Linked DNA regions of Homo sapiens: region 1 is linked to region 2. Evidence: promoter capture Hi-C in 16 types of primary human blood cells and fetal thymus (Javierre and others, 2016). All regions are on one chromosome and are shown on one strand. Each heading gives the region's core, a stretch centred on a gene start or on the middle of the fragment in contact. The rest is flanking DNA. Distances are from core to core; before and after follow the strand shown.

What was found. The method cuts DNA at HindIII sites, captures the fragments that hold promoters and counts their contacts. A CHiCAGO score of 5 or more calls a contact.
Region 1: the fragment with the promoter of FUBP1 here is called in contact with a fragment that was not itself captured in region 2 in 1 of 17 cell types (total CD4 T cells); the score reaches 5.7 in total CD4 T cells.

What each region holds. Positions count from the first base shown.
Region 1 is chr1:77,977,721-77,981,159 of GRCh38, forward strand. FUBP1 (far upstream element binding protein 1) reads right to left here and starts at 1,352. Exons shown (of 20, transcript NM_003902.5): 1 at 1,165-1,352. The coding sequence starts at 1,284. It also overlaps a transcript of DNAJB4 not described here. RefSeq lists enhancers at 916-965, 1,036-1,085, 1,096-1,155, 1,166-1,295, 1,606-1,755 and 1 more. The HindIII fragment of the contact is 9,300 bases long and covers 1-3,439 here.
Region 2 is chr1:77,566,119-77,569,364 of GRCh38, forward strand. ZZZ3 (zinc finger ZZ-type containing 3) reads right to left here. Exons shown (of 15, transcript NM_015534.6): 13 at 2,214-2,348; 14 at 1-63. Among named protein-coding and RNA genes, the nearest start is that of ZZZ3, 110 kb to the right of the region's middle. The HindIII fragment of the contact is 3,871 bases long and covers 1-3,246 here.

The sequences.
Region 1 (3,439 bases), core at 102-2,601, 410 kb after region 2:
TTCTTAAATTACGTGGAAAAAACCGCAGAACTAATATTAATGATGACCTTTTGTTGACTACTCCTAGTATTTCTGGTTATAAAAAAGTACAGGTACATGTTTATAATGCGTTCACATTAGATGTGTTACAACGGATTTTATGAATTCTAATTTTGACTCAATGTTCCTTCAACTGTCCCGGTAAAAAGTTAACTAAGTGAACTCCTAATGCAACGAAAACACAGCACAACACTGGTTTCTAATTATCATTAGCTTAAAACTAGTAAAAAATGCCCAGCACCTAGTACAATATGCATAGTGTCACAGAGAATAGGATTCTTTTGCTTACATGCAAATCTATACCAACACCATACATTTTGAAATGTTAAATATATTAGGGGACTATCTAAGAATGTAAAGTTCAAATTAAGGTATCTTTTATTTTCCTGGAATACACGCACTATTTTAACAGCTTTCGTCTGGGAAAGTGGTGCCTTCAGGGCAAATGCACGCACTACGTAATACAAAGAGGTCTGGTCAGTTTACGACTCTGAACTGAGAGGCAGATTCAAATTGAAACCTCTGGTATAATGGGCCTGAGGCCATTTTGAGAAATAAGGGGGGCGGACTGGTGGAACAGACTGACACGTAAATCCCGCCCAGAAAAAGGCTGCTTTCAAGTCCCTTCCTTGTAGAGGTGTGACGGTGAATGGTACTGAAAGCGGTTTTAATTGCGAGAGAGAACGGAAATGAGCTGTAAAGGCTACTTTAATGATAAATCCCTTCCCTTGCTATGGCTCCAGGACAGACCCTAGTTCTTTCCCAAACTCATTACCAGAACCTTCCATTAAATTGTGTGAAACTAACTGCGCTTTATCCCCTGGAAGAGGATCTTTATCTAAACTAGCTCACTGGAGACACGCGAGTGCCGCAGAAGCGGGAGAAAGACTTCAGGCCTTCTTTGCGTAGCACGCGTCGGGGTTCTAAGTGGATTAGGCACCAAGAACACAAAACTGGGTTCTGGTCTCTAATCGTTATTACCAACATGGGGAAACGTGTCTCTTCACATTTCAGCCCGGAAGAACACCTCTTTCCTCTTCCTCATGCGCTTAAGGGTAGCGGCCTACTCAGTCAGCGGCCAATTACCGTGAGCTTTCGGGATTCCGCCGCGCGGTCCACACTTACCTGCCGGGCTCTCTGCAGTGCATCTTTGAAAGCGTCGTTAACTCCTCCACCACCACCGCCGCCACCACCGCCACCAGCTGAGCCAGAAGAGGGGGGAGGCACTGTTGAATAGTCTGCCATGGTTGCACTATAAGAGCCGCTGCCGCCTGTTCAGAGACTTCCTCTCAGCTAACAGCTAAGAAAGAAAGAAAATGGCGGCCGTCGAAGCTCTATTACATTCTTGCGCGACCATCGTGCCGTAAAGGGGCGGAGACTGAAGGAACAAAATCTCGCGATGTTTCCGAGGCAACGCGCTGGTGTGGGTTAGGGCTGAGAAAGAACGACAGGAACAGAGACGTCGCGAGGATTAAGTTTAAGACTTCGCGAGAACAGAATTTCTTTTGGCACCTCCTCTCCGCGCGTTCTTGGGGTGAGGCTGGGTAATTGTTCCTGCAGGGTGGTGGGTGATAGTGGCCAGTTGACTGCGACTGTGTTTGGGTGGTGGGAAGCCTGAAGAAAAGGTTGTTTCTTACCGGTCGCTGCCTCAGGGAGGTAGTGCGGTAGAATTTTCCGCTATGGGTCATTCTCGGTGTCCGCGGGGAAGGGCGTGACAACGACGGGCGTGACGGCGAAGCAACAGTGTCTCGAGAGCGCTGCCGCCCGGAGGGCGCCAGGAGAAGTGCGTCCGAGACGCCGCGCGGTGATGCTCCTGAAAACGTCTGCCCGGCGTAGCGGGAACCCAGCATGATTTTCAGGGTAGTAAAGTGTCCCTGTATTTTACTTACAGACTGTCCGATTTTTTAGTTTTATCACGAGGGTGGGTGTTGAATTCAGGCTGGAAGCCTGTTAGTTCTCGACCATATTTTAAGTTTTTTGTTTAAAATAATGTGGATGAGGCTCTAAAAGTATGACTGCCCTTTTCTTTATCCAAAAACGTGATTGTTCTTAAAGTTCAGTGTTAGCCAGATTTAATAACCTAGTATATGTATGTGTCCATGGCCATTTTTATTAAGGGTTTTTTTTTGTTTGTTTGTTTGTTTTGAGAGTCTCGCTCTGTTACCCAGGCTGGAGTGCAGTGGCGCGGTCTCGGCTCACTGCATCCTCCGCCTCCTGGGTTCAAGCGATTCTCCTGCCTCAGCCTCCCGAGTAGCTGGGACAACAGGCGCCTGCCACCACGTCTGGGCTAATTTTTTGCGTTTGTAGTAGAGACGGGGTTTCACCGTGTTAGCCAGGATGGTCTCGATCTCGTGACCTCGTGATCCACCCGCCTCGGCCTCCCAGAATGCTAGGATTATAGGCGCGAGGCACTGCGCCCGGCCTGTTAAGGTCTCTTAAGTTAAGAACAGCATTGTTTCTTGACCAAAATAGATTTTGTAGCTTCTTAGGCGTAGTTTCTCCCACCCCATCCTGTGGGTACTCAAATGTAAGATCATATTCTGAATTGTCATCACAGGACTAGGTATATATATATATATATGTGTGTGTGTGTGTGTGTGTGTGTGTGTGTGTGTAAATTGGTATTTTATGTTATGTACTTCAGTTACCAAGTAATGCCAGACATTTCTTCAGACCTTCTCCAACATATCGTGGCATGTAATTTACTGTGTTAATAGTAGTAAGCTCCAGGAATCGTGAGGATACTTTAGAAGTCTTACTCTTTATTATTGAGTATATCACAGTGACTTTTTTTTTCCAAAATTATTTGTTTAAATAACAAACAATGAGGTAAAATGAACTTTCTCGACTTTGTGGCATTTTGTCTTACTTGGTTAGGTCTAAAAAAATACTTTTTCAGCAGCTCTTAAGAGTAATTGTGAGAAATATATATATGCTGCATTCTTTCTGAAAACCTAAAAGTAATGTGTTCATTTGCTTAAGCACCAAAATAGCAGTTAATATGAATGTAGATACAGGTGAGCCATCATTTCCCTTTAATCAGCTTTTAAGGCAGTAGTATCCATTTATAGCTCTGATGATCTTTTTCAGTGTTCATGGCCATCCCTATAAATTTTGGTGGAATTTGCATTTGAAAAATCAGTGCACGTATGGGACTACAGATTTAATCATAATGTATAGAAAAACAGTAAAAGCAGTGTTGGGTGTGCGGCTAGGTAGAAATTTTCCAGTTGTATTTTGAAAATGTCTTGATTTTTTCATATTTTATTAATTAGGCAATACAATCAGATCTTTTGATCAATGTAATTTACCACAGTGCTATAATTTACCCTCAAAACAAATTTATGTATATCTCAATTTATTTTAGTTATCACTGAATATTGAAAATATGTAAGGACCT
Region 2 (3,246 bases), core at 417-2,916:
TGGAGGACAATCCTGGCAATGCCACCGAACACCCTGGATGGGTTCTATGCCACAGTTATCACACTATAACAGATTCAGAGAGAAAATGTATTAAGTTATACTGTTCCACGATCTTTTTTATTTTCCACAAGGAAACACATGATGTGCACACAGACATCTTCTCTTCTCTCTCCATGCACAGGACAGTAATATAACACACAAATGGTTATGTGTTAGAGACAATTTCTAGCAAACTAGGTAAAATTCCATCCACTCAATATCAAGATATGGGTGAGTGAGAGGAACATTGGAAGGGATAATCTTCAATCAGCTTAAATTTATTTAAAAATTTTTAAAAGTAAATCATCTCCAACTTGGGTGTTTTGTTATTTGTAATCATCTACTTGAAAGGTACCTCAGACCACTGTATGATGACTATGGTTGAGAAACAGAGAGTTAATACCATAGTTAAAACTATCCAAATACTGGTTAAGGAAGCAATGCCACAGCTGCCTCCTGTAGTGCTTCACTGTTGGTAATTGATACAGAATTGTTTTAGCAGGTTCTCTTGGCTAACATAAACCCAGGCAACAATGAAATTCTGTCTAAACTTTTATCTCTTATTGAATCGCTCTCCCAAAGCCTAAAGACTCCTAATAACCAATGCCCATCATGTCAAAAAGGCAGATCTAGCTCTTTCTCAGCGTGGTGGCATTGTGACAGTCCTCAGTGTGTTCTGTGCACTTTTGGAAATCAAAGGATCTATCATTTCTAGTTTCTTTGATCATCTGGTCAACTATAGTGGCTGACAGAATGGCAAACAAGCCATGGCTGGGTTTTGCAGCAAAATTAGGAGAAGTGAAGCAAGTTTTTCTGAAAGGCCAGAGCTGCCAGTTAGGAAAATCTCTATTGGAGAAACAGGGTCACTGAAAGATCAAGAGGGAAAATCATTTAATATAGTATGGTTACTGGCTACTCTAGAGGATCAAAGGTATAACTTTGTTTTTAATTTGGTTTACCAGTCACAGCACACATCAGTACTTTCATGTGCACCCACCAACACCACCAAGTTTATGGTCTCATTATTACTTCCTCCAGTCCAACCAAGTCAATTCTAATGCCTAAAGGCTTCTCAAACTTGCCAATCTTTATTTCCATGGCCACCAGTCAAGTTCAGGACACCCTCCTCTTTTGTCTAAATTATCAAAAGAATCTCTAACCAGTTTCCTTGACTCTAGTCTTGCCTTCCTCTAATTAAGTTTCCATACTATGGCCAAAATGATGAGGGGAAAAGCTGGTCAGTTCCAAACCCACTGCTTTCCTAAAGATCATCACCCCCAATAGTTTAAGTAACTAGAATGATTCTTTCCAAAACGTAAATGTCATGTTACTTTCTGCTTAAAATCATTCAATGGTTCCCCCCACCAACCTCTCAGGATAGTGTGAGCTCCTTGGCAAAATTTATAAGGCGGTGCAAGCAGCCTCTAACTACTCTCTAGTATGTACTCTAGCCACGCTCAACTATTTTGTTTAACTTCTCTAAATTCCTTATGAGAATGAAAACAGAGTAAGGGCAAGAACTGAGTCTGTCTTGTTTACTGCTGAATCTCTAGCACTTAGCAAAGTGACTGGAACATAATGTGTATTACAAAATTCTGCAGAATGAGTATATGCATTTCTATTAGCCTCTCAATCAGAAAGGGAAAAAAACCCATTTCTGACCCATGAACAACAGCAACAAAAAGAGAAACGGCTAAACAAAAGCCCCTCACATTTTACCTCAATTGATAGCTACCTGTATGTCTGTCTTCACTCTACTAAATAATAAACTCTTCACATCAGGAACGATGGCACCACTGCTTTGCATAAATGAATGGGATAAAAGATAACTTTTTCCTACATGCTTAGCAATTCTGGAGTTTAACACTACAGAAACCACTTTAAAGTATCTCTTATCACCCTTTTAAAATTAAATGAATACTGCAGCCTGGCCAACATGGTGAAACCCCCATCTCTATTAAAAATACAAAAATTAGCTGGGTATAGTGGCACACACCTGTAATCCCAGCTACTTGGGTGGCTGAGACACGAGAATCGCTTGAACCCGGGAGGCAGAGGTTGCAGTAAGCTGAGATCACGCCACTGCACTCCAGCCTGGGCAACAGAGTGAGACTCTGTCTCTAAATAAATAAATAAATAAAATGAAATGAATCCTAAAATTAAATAGAACTTACCTTAAAGCCCACATGTTGCACAAATCCACTTTCAGCTTGCATTTGCTGAAGTTTCTGCTTCTTTAACTTTTTAAACTGTAATAGTTCTTTATATTCAGGTAAATTCCTATACATGATAGGAATACTTTCGTCATCCTATCAAAAAAAAAAAAAAAAAAAAATGTTGGTTTGGTAATTAAAATGAATTAAGTGTAAGTAATACTGATACAGAATATTTTTCTACTGATATTTTTCATTTTTAAAATATCTCTTAGTACTCATAGAAAATTAGTGCTGTTATTAGCAGTATTTTCCACTAATGCTTTTGGACTTTTTTTTTTTTTTTTTTTTAACACAACAGTAATTCTGAATTGTAGCAGACTACTTCAATGCAGGTAAAAGGGAAGCACGGCCATGATTACCACCTCTGTCACACACTATTGCAAACCCAATCCCATCTTTATATTTTCACGGTTACTTGAGTGACTTGTAATCTACTTCTCCCTCATTTAAGGAAGTTCCTCTTCTCCAATCTAACAGATTTTTACATTTGCTCCTGTAAACATGACACTTTCTTAATAACAAGCAAACCAACCTCTGCTCTTGTTTTTTGCTCTGTACTCCCAATGATCAAAGTAGAACATTTCTCTCCTACTCAACAAGATGAACTGAGTTACAAAGACGACTATTTAGAATGGACTGTAAGAGACATAAACAGTAAAAACTATATAAATGTATTAAGTAGGCTAGGTGCAGTGGCTTATACCTGTAATCCCAGCACTTTGGGAGGCCGAGGTGGACGGATCACTTTAGGTCAGGAGTTCAAGACCAGCCTAGCCAACATGGCAAAAGCCTGTCTCTACTAAAAATACAAAAATTAGTTGGGCATGGTGGCACGCACCTGTAATACCAGCTACTCGGGAAGCTGAGGCAGGAGAATTGCTTGCACCTGGGAGGCGGAGGTTGCAGTGAGCCAAGACTGTGCCACTGCACTCCAGCCTGGGAGACAGAGTGAGACTCCGTCTCAAAATTAAAAAATAAAATAAATGTATTA